2 separate regions of the Homo sapiens genome follow, and region 2 is linked to region 1. The links are contacts of gene promoters, found by promoter capture Hi-C in blood cells and fetal thymus (Javierre and others, 2016). All regions are on one chromosome and are shown on one strand. Each heading gives the region's core, a stretch centred on a gene start or on the middle of the fragment in contact. The rest is flanking DNA. Distances are from core to core; before and after follow the strand shown.

The links. The method cuts DNA at HindIII sites, captures the fragments that hold promoters and counts their contacts. A CHiCAGO score of 5 or more calls a contact.
Region 2: the fragment with the promoter of ASPSCR1 here is called in contact with a fragment that was not itself captured in region 1 in 1 of 17 cell types (total CD8 T cells); the score reaches 5.0 in total CD8 T cells.

The regions. Positions count from the first base shown.
Region 1 is chr17:82,203,141-82,209,757 of GRCh38, forward strand. The region is part of intron 1 of CCDC57 (coiled-coil domain containing 57); the gene reads right to left. Among named protein-coding and RNA genes, the nearest start is that of CCDC57, 6.4 kb to the right of the region's middle. RefSeq lists enhancers at 2,049-2,850, 2,627-2,806, 2,733-3,027, 2,851-3,652, 3,137-3,196 and 1 more. The HindIII fragment of the contact is 421 bases long and covers 2,514-2,934 here.
Region 2 is chr17:81,972,132-81,978,878 of GRCh38, forward strand. ASPSCR1 (ASPSCR1 tether for SLC2A4, UBX domain containing) reads left to right here and starts at 5,498. Exons shown (of 16, transcript NM_024083.4): 1 at 5,498-5,617. The coding sequence starts at 5,516. LOC105371939 (a long non-coding RNA gene) reads right to left here and starts at 5,354. Exons shown (of 2, transcript XR_933953.4): 1 at 5,237-5,354; 2 at 3,837-4,826. It overlaps LOC124904087 (a long non-coding RNA gene), which reads left to right. Exons shown (of 2, transcript XR_007065951.1): 2 at 3,980-4,204. RefSeq lists enhancers at 4,110-4,883, 4,884-5,655 and a silencer at 5,134-5,993. The HindIII fragment of the contact is 4,025 bases long and covers 3,788-6,747 here.

The sequences.
Region 1 (6,617 bases), core at 1,474-3,973:
GGGAGATTTGGTCATTTCAAAGTGTGTGGTGACAATGAGTTCTAGTGAGATGTGGCATCTCTCCACCACTCACACTCCCCTCTTGCTTCGTGCCTGCTCCTCTTTCACCTTCCGCCATGAGTAAAAGTTTCCTGAGGCCTCCCCAGAAGCGGGTGCCAACACTGTGCTTCCTGTACAGCCAGGAGAACCGTGAGCCAATTAATCTTTCTTTATAAATTACCCAGCGTCAGGTATTTCTTTCCAGCAATGTGAGAATGGTCTAATATACCATCCGAGAGTACATTCTTTTGTTCTTTTATTTGTTCATCATGGACTGATATTTTGGTAAAACCATAAAAATAAAGTGCTACAAAAAATAAAATTTAAAAACAAAAATCACAAAAACCAATAAGCTGGGCACAGTAGCTCTCGCCTGCAATCCCAACATTTTCTGAGGCTGAGGTGGGTGGGTCATTCAAACTCAGGAGTTCCACGCTGCAGTGAGTGGTCTATTAAAAGATAAAGTTTCTTCTGGCTGGTCCTAGCTGCCCCCAACCCTTTAGAGGTCCAAGTATGAGCTCGATTTGGACACAGAAATCCCCCACAACTCTTCTCTGGTGTCCACACAGGGGAACTGCATGGCCTAAAAGGGCCACACCCAGTTGGGGGACAAGCACAAACTTCCGGCCTGGTGGGACATGGCCGGGGTGCTGCTGCCAGAGCAGGAAAAAGCCCCAGCCTGTCTTAGGGTACCTCTGTATCTCCGGGCACCTCTGCATCTCGGGGCACAGCAATGGTTGTACAAAGTCCCAACTCCCAGAGGGAGCGGGTACAAGGGCACAGCCAGGCTGAGCACCGGCTGTGACGAAGCACAAGGAGGAGGTGGGTAAGGGGCTGCAAGACCCGTGGGCCCCTCCAGAAAGGGCTGGTCAGCAGGGCACACCCGCTGGGGGCACGAGGGCTCCCTGGGGGTCCTGAGACGGCGCTTCTCTGACGAGGCTCTGGAGCAAAGACGGTCTCCTCCATCCCACATGCTTCCTGCGATGCAACCCCCGCGCCCAGCACCCTAGGACCATCACGCCACCTGGACCACCTCAGCCTGGCTCCTCCAAGCTGCTGCGTGCCCACCCATTGCCGGAGCTAACAGGGTCCCTACCGACCATCTCAGCACTCTCCCACGCTCCTGTTCCTCGTCTCCCTCAGCTCCTACAACGGCCCCACCGTCCACCCCGTGTAATGATCCTTGACCTCTTGCTGTCTCCCACCTTGTGCCCACACCTCGGCCACCACAGTGTCTTACCACAAGAGACCTCAACTGGCCTCTGCTGTGCACTCCCACTTTTTTGGCTGCCAAAGGAATCTTTTCAAAAATGCTTTACCAGGGCCGGGCGCAGTGGCTCATGCCTGTAATCCCAGGACTTTGGGAGGCCGAGGCGGGCGGATCATAAGGTCAGGAGATTGAGACCATCCTGGCTAACACGGTGAAACCCCGTCTCTACTAAAAATACAAAAAATTAGCTGGGCGTGGTGGTGGGCGCCTGTAGTCCCAGCTACTTGGGAGGCTGAGGCAGGAGAATGGCGTGAACCCCGGAGGCGAAGCTTGCAGTGAGCTGAGATCGCACCACTGCAGTCCGGCCTGGGCAACAAAGAGAGACTCCATCTCAAGAAAAAAAAAAGGCTTAACCAGGCTTCCCATTCCACTGAGGACATCTGGACCCCAGGCTCCTGCCTGTCGCTGCCACGTGCCCTCAGAGCCTGGGATGTGTGGCAGGTGCCGCTCTGTCTGCAAGGTTCCTCCTAACCGCAGGGCAGGCTCCTCCTGCCAGTGGGACCTCAACCTGAACATCACTGCAGGGAAGCTTTCCTAACTTCCATCTCACGTTGGCACAACGCCATCACCCCAGTGTCGGGTGTAGTGAGTCCCACTGTCTGGCACAGTCTTGGCGACTGAAACATTTTGTACACAGAGGACATGCACACACCTGTGCACACACCTGTGCACACACAGGGAAAGAATTGGACTATCAGCAAATACACATTAAATGATGGAACACCACTGTGATCTCTGATGACTCAGAACCCTTCACACAGTGCCCGTGAGTCATGACAACGGTTCTCTGCAGAGCCTGAGGTCTGCGAGGTCTACGGGCCTCTTCTCTGAGGGACTGCTGTGGCCCCCGTCCTGTACCAGCTGCCCTGCCACTGGGCTTGCCTCCTTAACTCATTGGTCGCAGCCACCCATGGGGGTTGCCGTTCTGAGAATCTGATCATGCAATCTTATCTGGCCTCAAATGTGCCCGCGACTCCTGACCATTTTCAAAATAAAGTCCGATCTCCTTGGCACAGCGTATGAAGACAGACCGAGGACACGGCCCAGCCTGCGTGGCTCCAGCTGCTCCCTGCAGGCCCAGAGCAGCCTTTATCTGCCAGTTCCTGTGCACGTGCTACTCCAGGTCCCCATGCCCCCATCTCCCCACTGGGTGAGGTTCCTTCCCACCAGGTCTCAGGACTCAGCGGGTCACCCTGTTTTCAAAAGCTTCAGGCAGCCAGGACAGGCAGATGGCACGTACCACCCCCTCTATGTGAGATGGGTGCTCCCAGGCCTCTGTGCTCTGCACAGAAGAGCAGCCTGAAAAATCCATACAGCAAGTGACTCGGTGCAGCACCCGGTGAGAGCCCAGCATCTCCAGCGCTTTATCCATCACACTCAGGACCCATAAGAAGCCCCACACACCAAGGGCCTGTAAGTCAGCCGGGCTCGGCTCGCCTTTCCTTCTGACCTCATCATAGAACGGCCTGCTCTGTTTCTGTACAAATCCCATCTCGGGATGATCCCCAAAGCCCCAAGGCTGAGATTAATTGGCTTTCAAAAGCACGGACTCAGCATCTGGACGCAATCTGCCTGTCGGCCAGCAGGCGTCCCCAGCAAGCACCTGGTTTCAAGAAGGACCATGAAGCTTCCGGGTTGGGGAGCGGCAGGAGAAGCCGCCGGGGAGGGAAGGCCTCGCTGTGCGTTCACCCTCTTTCAGGAGAACCAGTGGGGCTCCCTGAACCAGCCAGCTCCCAGCAGGGGCTGGAACAGCATGGGTGGGCATCCCATCACTTTGATTTTCTCATTTTAAAAATACTGAGCTGAGCTAACGGTGATGTTGTAGGTTTACCTGTTGTGGTACAATGACACATCATGGTTTTCTTGCACAGTTCCTGGCTCATAACTCTCACACGTCACAGTCTTTTGTTGCAATGTTGGGCGTGTCAGGCCTCAGGAAACAGAATCCTTCCAGGTCTCCACTCTCACCTGACTTTCCATTGTAGGTCATAAGATCCTCCCCAGAGCTCCCACCCTCTACCCTGGGGGAAGGAATGCTGACTTCAGGAAGCCTCCCTAAACACCCAAGAGGACAGGGTGTGGAGAGGTTCCTGGGGAGTGGTGGGTGGGGTGTGGGGGGGTCCTCCAGGAAGCCTCTTCCCCCATATCTCCCCTTACGCATCTCCTCATCTGTATCCTCTGTAATACCCTTTATAATAAACTGTTACACGTATGTGTTTCCCTGGGTTCTGTGAGTCACCCCAGCAAATCAATCGAACCCAAAGAGGGGGCTGTGGGAACCCCAACTTGAAGCCAGTGGTCAGTCAGAAGTTCCGGAGGCCAGGACTCGCGACTGGTGTCAGAAGCGGGCAGTCTTTGAACCACCATTGCAAAATTATAACTCAGACAGTGAAAGAGATCTGACCTAACCAATTCCATCGTGCTTCTAACCTCCAAGCTCTCCTTGTTCATTCCTGGGTGTAGGCCGAACTAAGTTTAGGAGGAACTTAGTTTATAGTTTGAAACAAAGACAGTAACAGCCCTTTCCCGAAACAAACCCCCTTTTTGCCTGGGGACTAGACTGCCTTTGTAGGACTAACAAATTAGCCAAAAGATTAGAAATTATGGTTTAGGGCCAGGTGCAGTGACTGGCCCCGGTTGTCCCAGCACTTTGGGAGGCTGAGGCTGGATCACTTGAGCCCAGGAGTTCGAGACCAGCCAGGGCCACACGGCAAAACGCTGCCTCTACCAAAAATACAAAAATTAACTGGGGCGTCGCTTGTAGTCTCAGCTACCAGGCAGGCTGAGGTGGGAGGATCGCTTGAGCTTACGACGTTGAGGCTGCAGTGAGCTGTGATTGCACCACTGCACTCCAGCCTAGGTGACAGAGTGAGACCCTGTCTCAAAAATAAAAAAAAAAAAACAAAAAAGAAATTATGGTTTAGGAGTCATGCAGCTACAGGCTACAAGATTCTGACCTTCCCCAAATTGTTCCTGGGGTAACATCACTATTGTAAAACCTAAGATCAATCAGTGCTTGAGATATTTTGCAGACCCTGCACTCCATGGATCAGCTGGCACCCCCGGATTGATAAACTGGCTCATCCGATCTTGTGGCCCCCACCCAGGAACTGACTCGGCGCAAAAGGACACCTTCGACTCCCTACGCTTTCATCTCCAACTCACTGGCCCCCTACACACTAAGTTATCCTTAAAAACTCTGATCCCCGAATGCTTGGGGAGACTGATTTGAGTCATAATAGAACTCCGTTCTCCCGCACAGCCGGCTCTGTGTGACTTACTCTTTCTCTATCCTAATTCCCGTCTTGGTGAATCGGCTCTGCCTGGGCAGCAGGCGGGGTGGACCTGTTGGGTGTTTATGTCTTGGGTGTTTATGTCTTGGGGACTGAGCCCTCACCCTGTGGTCTGACCTCTCTCCAGGCAGGCGGTGTTGGAACTGAACCGAAGGACACCCGCCGAGTCTGCGGCAGAACTGACTGCTCATGTGCTGGTGAAAACCTCCCTCTCCCACCACATTTGATCACAGAAGTCTTCCTCTGTGCTGATGATTCTTGTGGTATCAGAGTAGAGGAAAAACAGTTTGAGTTTTCCAGAAATACCTGTGAATAAAATACACATAAAATAAAATCTACTAAAAATACACAGAGAAGGGGTTTCTCCATGTTGGTCAGGCTGGTCTGGAACTCCCAAACTCAGGTGATCCACCTGCCTCGGCCTCCCAAAGGGCCGGGCGCAGGTGTGAGCCACTGCGCCCAGCCCAAATATATATATTTTTATGACCTCCATGTATAAATATATTTAATACCCTTAACTTATTATTATTATTTTAGACAGTCTTGTTTTCTTGCCCAGGCTGGAATGCAGTGGCGCGATCTTGGCTCACTGCAACCTCTACCTCCTGGGTTCAAGCTATTTTCCTGCCTCAGCCTCCCAAGTAGCTGGGATTACAGGCGCCCGCCACCATGCCCGGCTAATTTTTGTACTTTTAGTAGAGATGGGGTTTCACCATCTTGGCCAGGCTGGTCTTGAACTCCTGACCTCGTGATTCACCCGCCTCGGCCTCCCGAAGTGCTGGGATTACAGGCGTGAGCCACCGTGCCTGGCCTAATACCCTTAACTTATAAGACACTTCCTGGGACTGGAAGGCAGGTCTGGGGTGGCTCATTCACTTTGTACTCAGGACAGAGGACTCAATCTCAGCATCCTGAGTAGCTGGGACTACAGGCAGGCACCACCATGCCCAGTTAATTTTTTTTTTAAATTTCTTGTAGAGATGGGGTTCCACTATATTGTCCAGCCTGGTCTTGAACTCCTGGCCTCAAATGATCCTCTCACCTTTAAATGTACTGAATTTAGCTCTTGTGGCCCCTCTTGGATTCCAGAGAGTGCTGCTAAGCCCTCTGGGAGGCCAAATTCAGTAATCTACTCTTTTGTTTTGAAACAGAGTCTCAGTCTGTCACCCAGGATGGAGTGCAGTGGCACAATCACAGCTCACTGCAGCCTCGAATGCCCATCTAAAAGCTACAGCTCAAGCGATCTTCCCACGTACTTATAGGTGTGAACCACTGCACCCAGCCTCTCATCTACTCTTTAAATAGGTCCAGGGGACAAAAATTATGTACCTGTGACCCCGTGTTTTTTTTCACTTCCTCCACTGACTGCCGAAGAGTAGCCACAGCCATTTCTAAAACTGAAATAAGAGAGATGGGCAGTAGGTCTGAATTCTGTCAGTGGCACTTGCTGGAGAAGAGGGGCACCACTACCACGAAGGAACATGAAGGGCTGTTTTCTTTGAACGTGCATTTGCCAAAAAAAAGTGAGTAAGTGAGAAATAGAAGTTGAAGTCGAAGTCTTGTAGTTGAGTTTAGACTTTGCGGACTTTTAGAACCACGTATACATGTTTCATGTGCCAAAAACAAAGCACAACAAAAAACAAAAAAACTTAAAATCAGTAAGGACTCAAAATGAAGTAGAAACAGGTGAACCTAACTTGATTACAAGTGCGTAACTTGTAATAAACTCACAGGTTTTTTTGGTGTTTGTTGTTTGTTGAGATGGGATCTCACTCTGTCACCCGAGCTGCAGTGCAGTGGCATGATTATAGCTCACTGCAGCCTCAAACTCCTGAGCTCAGATGGTCCTCCTACCTCAGCCTCCAGAGTAGCTGGGACTCAGACACACGCCACCATGGCTGGCTAATTTATTTTGTAATTTTTTATAGAGATGGGTGTCTCACTTTGTTGGCCAGGCTGGTTTCCAACTCCTCACCTCAAGCGATTTTCCCCCCTCAGCTTCCCAAAGTGGTGGG
Region 2 (6,747 bases), core at 4,248-6,747, 230 kb before region 1:
ATTCAGTTATACACTGGTTTATAATACACTGGTTTTCCTGTCTCAAGCTTGCAGACAACCGACCATGGGACTTCTTTCTCAGCCTCTATAATCATTTGAGCCAATTCCCATAATACATTTCCTCTTTTTTTTTTGAGATGGAGTCTCACTCTGTCACTCAGGCTGGAGTACAGTGGTGTGATCTCGGCTCACTGCAACCTCCACCTCCCGGGTTCAAGTGATTCTCCTGCCTCAGCCTCCCGAGTAGCTGCGACTATAGGTGTGCAGCACCACACCCGGCTATTTTTTGTGTTTTCAGTAGAGATGAGGTTTCCCCATGTTGGCCAGGCTGGTCTCTTGTATATATCTGTGCATATCCTATTGGTTCTGTTTCTCTGGAGGACCCTATAATACACTAACCTAACCTAACACAGAAAAGCAAATTAATTCAAATAACTTTTGAACACAATACTCTATGTTTCTTTAATGGGACATACTCTAAAGGACAAAAATAGCTACAAAGACATCTTGAAATTTCCACAGTAGATCTGTTGTTAATAGCAAGATTGCCGCAGTACCTCTGAAACTATTTGGAGGGCATTTTAGAACAAAGCAAATGAATAAATATACTGATTTACTGACAATTAGGGTTCTCACTGCGGACAAAGGAGGTATTAGGTTGAACCATGTAGGTTTTGTCATTTTTTTGTAGATCAAAAATGATCGGCTGGGCGCAGTGGCTCATGCCTATCTATAATCCCAGTACTTTGAGAGGCCGAGGTGGGAGGATCACCTGAGGTCTGGAGTTCAAGACCAGCCTGGCCACCACAGTGAAACCCCATCGCTACTAGAAATACAAAGATTAGCTGCTCATGGTGGCAAGCGCCTGTAATCCAAGCTATTCAGGAGGCTGAGGAAGGAGAATCGCTTGAACCCGGGAGATGGGGGTTGCACTGAGCCGAGATCGTGCCACTGTATTCCAGCCTGGGCAATAGAGCGAGACTCTGTCTCAAAAAAAAAAAAAAAAAAAAAAAAAAAAGCCTGGGTGCGGTGGCTCACACCTGTAATCCCAGCACTTTGGGAGGCCGAGGCAGGCGGATCACAAGGTCAGGAGATTGAGACCATTCTGGCTAACATGGTGAAACCCTGTCTCTACTAAAAATACAAAAAATTAGCCGGGTGTGGTGGCCGGTGCCTGTAGTCCCAGCTACTCGGGAGGCCGAGGCAGGAGAATGGCGTGAACCTGGGAGGTGGAGCTTGCAGTGAGCCAAGATTGCGCCACTGCACTCCAGCCTGGGTGACAGAGTGAGACTCCGTCTCAAAAAAAAAAAAAAAGAAGATAAAAAAAGGTTAACTAGGGCAATTTAATAGAATTCAACCAAATACAAATATGGAATGAGGGAAGAAGGGGGAGAAGGCTGAGGTGTGGCTTAGAAATATTCAGATGAATTCATCACACTAATTGTGTCCCCTGAGAGGGCCCAGAAAGCAGTGACATCCCAGTAGCCATGAGCACACTCAGCACCCAGAACTTGGTCTCTAAATCCCATTTCCTTGTAAAAGGGATTGGGGTTTCTCTGAAAAATGGCTGACTTCAGGGCTTGGGCAGAGAGGAGATGCCCAAAGAATAATGGAAATGCCAAAAGGATGCAGGAAAGATGTCCACACTTGGACAATTAACTGTGGATTAACTCAGAGTATGATACCAACATTAGATTTCCCAATTTTGTATGAAATTATGGTGGCTATATAAGAGACTGGCCTTATTTTATTTATTTATTTTTTTGAGACTGAGTCTCACTCTGTCGCCAAGGCTGGAGTGCAATGGCGTGATCTTGGCTCACTGTAACCTCCACCTCCCACAATCAAGCAATTCTCCCACCTCAGCCTCCCAAGTAGCTGGAATTACAGGCACCTGCCATCACGCCCAGCTACTTTTTGTATTTTTTGTAGAGATAGGGTTTCACCATGTTGGCCAGGCTGGTTTTGAACTCCTGACCTCAGGTGATCCACCCGCCTTGGTCTCCCAAAATGCTGGGATTACAGGCGTGAGCCACTGCACCTGGTTGAGACTGGCCTTATTCTTAGGAAAGAGAAAAACTGAAGTATTTAGTGGCGAAGGTGCTCAATGTCTTTACTGCAGCCTCGACCTCCTGGGCTCAAGTGATCCTCCTGCCTCAATCTCTCAAATCGCTGGGACTACAGGGACATGCCACCATGCCTAGCTAACCTTTGTATTTTTTGTAGAGCTGGGGTCTCACTATGTTGCCTAGGGTGGTCTCAAACTCCTAGGCTCAAATGATCCTCCTACTTTGGCCTCCCAAAGTGCTGGGATTATAGGTGTAAGCCACTGTGCCTGGCCAGAAAAAGTTTTTACATGTATATGGAGAGAGAGAAAGAGAATATGATAAAACAAATGGGGTGACATGTAAACACTGATTTATCTGGCTAAAAGATATACAGGAGGCTGGGCGTGGTGGCTCACACCTGTAATCCCAGCACTTTGGGAGGCTGAGGCGGGTGGATCACGAGGTCAGGAGATTGAGACCATCCTGGCTAACATGGTGAAACCCCATGTCTACTAAAAATACAAAAAATTAGCCGGGCATGGTGGCAGGTGCCTGTAGTCCCAGCTACTCGGGAGGCTGAGGCAGGAGAATGATGTGAACCCGGGAGGCGGAGCTTGCAGTGAGCCGAGATTGCACCACTGCACTCCAGCCTGGGCAACAGAGCGAGACTCCGTCTCAAAAAACAAAACAAAACAAAACAACAACTAGCTGGGTGTGGTGCTGCACACCTGTAGTCCCAGCTACTCGGGAGGCTGAGGCAGAAGAATCGCTTGAACCCGGGAGGCAGAGGTTGCAGTGAGCTGAGATTTCGCCACTGCACTCCAGCCTGGCGACAGAGGGAGACTCCATCTCCAAAAAAAAAAAAAAAAAAAAAAGATATACAGCAGGAATTCTTGCTTTTGCAAACTTTTCTTCTCTTTCTTCCTTCCTCCTCCCTCTTCTTCTTTCTTCTCCTTCTCCTTTTTTGAGACGGTATCGTACTACGTTGCTCGGGCTGGGGTGCAGTAGTTATTCATAGGCATGAATAGTGGTTCACTAAGGCTGGAACTTAAGTAATTCTCCTGCCTCGGCCACCGGAGTAGCTAAGACTACAGGTGTGAGCCACCTTGCTCGGCTAAGTTTGAAATAATATCAGGATAAAAGATCATCCCTCCTATCAAAAAAAGCATAGGAGCCAGCTTAAAGGAGGTCTCACTGGCCAAATTCGGACCAATTTGAGCATCAAAAAGAATGCTGACTGAATGAAAAAAATACATGAATTCATATTAATAAATATATATATTTCAAGATGGGGTTTCACTCTTGTCGCCCAGGCTGGAGTGCAATGGTGCGATCTTGGCTCGTTGCAACCTCCATCTCCCAGGTTCAAGTGATTCTCCTACCTCAGTGTCCCGAATAGCTGGGATTACAGGCACGCACCGCCATGCCCGGCTAATTTTTGTACTTTTTTTTTAAGTAGAGACAGGATTTCACCATGTTGGCCAAGATGGTCTCAATCTCTTGACCTTGTGATCTGCCCAACTCAGCCTCCCAAAGTGCTGGGATTACAGGCGTGAGCCACCGCGCCTGGCCATATTTAATTTTTTTTTTTTTTTTTTTTTTGAGACAGAGTCTTGCTCCGTCTCCCAGGCTGGAGTACAGTGGCGTGATCTCAGCTCACTGCGAGCTCTGCCTCCCGGATTCACGCCATTCTCCTGCCTCAGCCTCCCAAATATTTAATAACTTTTTAAAGAAGGGGAAGCTTGACCGAAAGTGACTATAAATGTAGAAGAAACAATAAACTTGGGAAGCCATGATTTTGCAGCTTTACGGTTTAACACTGAATCTACTCATTAACTGATGCTAAAACTGTTGGGCAAATGGTTATTGGGAAAACTTGATGCTTGTGGTCTCAGAGAATGACCTCACGCATGCCTTAATTACTCCACAAGGAGCCACGGACCTTGACCATGGAGGAATTCAGCAGACCCAAAGCTGACCAAGTGGTTCAACTTCACGTCCTCACTCATGGCCACGCTGATGTCCTGCACCTCCTGCTGACTTGTCACCTCCCTTCATCATTGCCCCAAACGTTTAACCAAGGATCCAGACTGTGGGACAGTCTAAGGAAAATAGGAACAGACTCTTCAAAAACGCCACTAAAGAATTAAAACCCACCAGGTGATGTGTGGCTCAGTAAGGTTCTGAGGTTGCACAGAGCATGGGACTGGCTGGCTGGATGGGAGGGCTATGGCTAGCCTGGGGCTTTCCCCAGGTTTCTCCAATGTACATAGATGTCCGTGTTTGTCAGCATACAGGTGTGTGTGGGTGACATGGATATGTCATCGACAGGAAGGCACAACAGCACCCATGCAGAGATGTCCTTAGACTCAGCAATGACTGCCGGGTGCGGTGGCTCACGTGTGTAATCCCAGCCCTGTGGGAGGATTGACTGATAACTGCACCAGTTCCCCCTTCCACAGGCTACTGGGCAGCTGAGCCCTAGCCAGGAGTCCGCAGAGACAGGCAGGCACATGGAGAGAGGAGTGCCAAGGCCCGGCTGAGCCATGGAGGTGGGGGGCGGGGCGGAACACGTGCGAGTGCTGTCCATGAGTGGCCCAGGTGCTGGGAGCTAAGCACATTCGACGGCTGCGAGTCAGGAGGGCAGCTCCTTCTGGAAGCCTGGAGCTGGTGAGGCCAGGTGCTTTCCCTGCTGCGGTGGCTGGCGATGGGAGTGTTTCCTGAGGCTGCCACCAAGCCCCTCCTCAGCATGGGTTGGTGCGGGAAGTCCTTGAGTGCCTGTGGGTCGGCAGGAGCTCCGGTGAGACTCAAGTTCGCTCACCCCACGGTTCTGAAACCGGTCTCCCGCCTTTCCTACCCTCAGGTTTAGGGACCGTCGCGGCAGCCCTAGGGCTGCCAGATTCTGCACTCCCATTTTAGGATGAAAGAAATCAGGTCTAGACTGAGGGCCACGAGTCCCAACACCCAGGGAGGATCCGTACAGGGGCGGGGGGACTGCCCCAAACCATAAGGTCAGGAGGTGGACGCTGACCACAGGGACAGGTGGGCAGGGAAGAGGCTCAGCTGCTGGAGTGGAGGAAGCCGGGAGGGTCGGGGGAGAGCAGGGCACCGAGCTGGGGACGTGTCAGGGACGAAGCGAGGGTGGGCGAGCGCGGACCGCTGGGACCCCGGGGCTCAGTGCCGCTCACCGGGGGTGACCGCGCGCCCAGCCCCGGCCCAGCCTGGCCCCGGCGAGCCCATCCAAGCCGCGCTTCCCGGAGGCAGAGGACGACCGCGCTTTCCGGGTCTGGCGCGGGCTTTGGCGGCCCAAGGGCGGGGCCGGGGCGCCGTGGGTGGGGAAAGGGCGGGGCCTGGCAGGACCCGGAAGTGCGCTGCGGCCCCGCCCCCTGGCCGCGTGGCTGCGCGTCCTGGCTGTTGCCGATAAAGTTGTTTGACGCCGGCCCGGCGGCGGGTCACGTGAGCGGAAAATGGCGGCCCCGGCAGGCGGCGGAGGCTCCGCGGTGTCGGTGCTGGCCCCGAACGGCCGGCGCCACACGGTGAAGGTGACGCCGAGCACCGTGCTGCTTCAGGTGCGGCCGCCCGCCCGGGGCGGACGGGTAGGCGGGCGGGGGGCGCTGCGCCGAGGCCCCGCCCATTGCGGTCGGCGTCCCGGTGTTCGGGGGCGGGGCCTCGGCGGCCAATGAGCGGCCTCCTGAGCGGCGGCCCCGCCCCCTGCTCGCCGTCACCTGCGCTTCCGCTGGGGTCCCGGGGGTCCCGGGGGTCCCGAGTGGGGGCGGGGCGGTGGCGAGCCTTCCCAGGGGTGAGGTAGAACGGCGCCGCGTGTCACCCGCATCGAGTACTCGGCGCCCGGCCGAGCCCAGCTCGCGAGGGCGCCGGGAAGAGGGAGGAGTGGAGCCCTAGACCCGCGTTCCCATTCCGGGGCGTCCCCCGGAGCGGGAGCCCGGGTTGCGCGGTGGCAGATGTCCCGGCCGTGGGGCCTGGAAGCGATTTTTGCCGAGTCACTCACTGCACTTTTACTTGGGCACCTTGTGACCGCGAATCAATTAAATGTAAAAGTATTGGCTGGGCGCGGTGGCTCACGCCTGTAAATCCCAGCACTGTGGGATGCCGAGGCGGGTGGATCACGAGGTCAAGAGATCAAGACCATCCTGGCTAAAACGGTGAAACCCCGTCTGTACTAAAAAAATACAAAAAAATTTAGCCGGGCGTGGTGGCGGGCGCCTGTAGTCCCAGCTACTCGGGAGGCTGAGGCAGGAGAATGGCGTGAACCTGGGAGGCAGAGCTTGCAGTGAGCCGAGATCGCGCTACTGCACTCCAGCCTGGGAGACAGAGCGAGACTCCATATCAAAAAAAAAAAAAAAAAGTATTTATTGAGCCTCTGCTGCGTGGGGGACCGTGAGGATCCGAAGGTGCACACGACTCGGAGTTTGCGGGAGCAGCCCACGGCGTGGGGTCCCCAGGCCTGGGCAGGTGGAGGGCGCAGCCAGGAGGCTGTTGGTGCCAGGCGTGCAGAGTGCGGAAGTGGGGCGCTCCCGCAGAGGCTGCGCGGGACCCCTTGGTGCAAGGCCACGGCTTTGGCTTTTTATGGAGAAGAGGGGCGGAGGCGGTGCAGGCAGTGGCAGCAGGTGCACAGAACCGTGCCAGAGCCAGGGGGTAGCTTGTGCTAGGCAAGTTTAAGGCAGGTTGCAGAACTACAGGG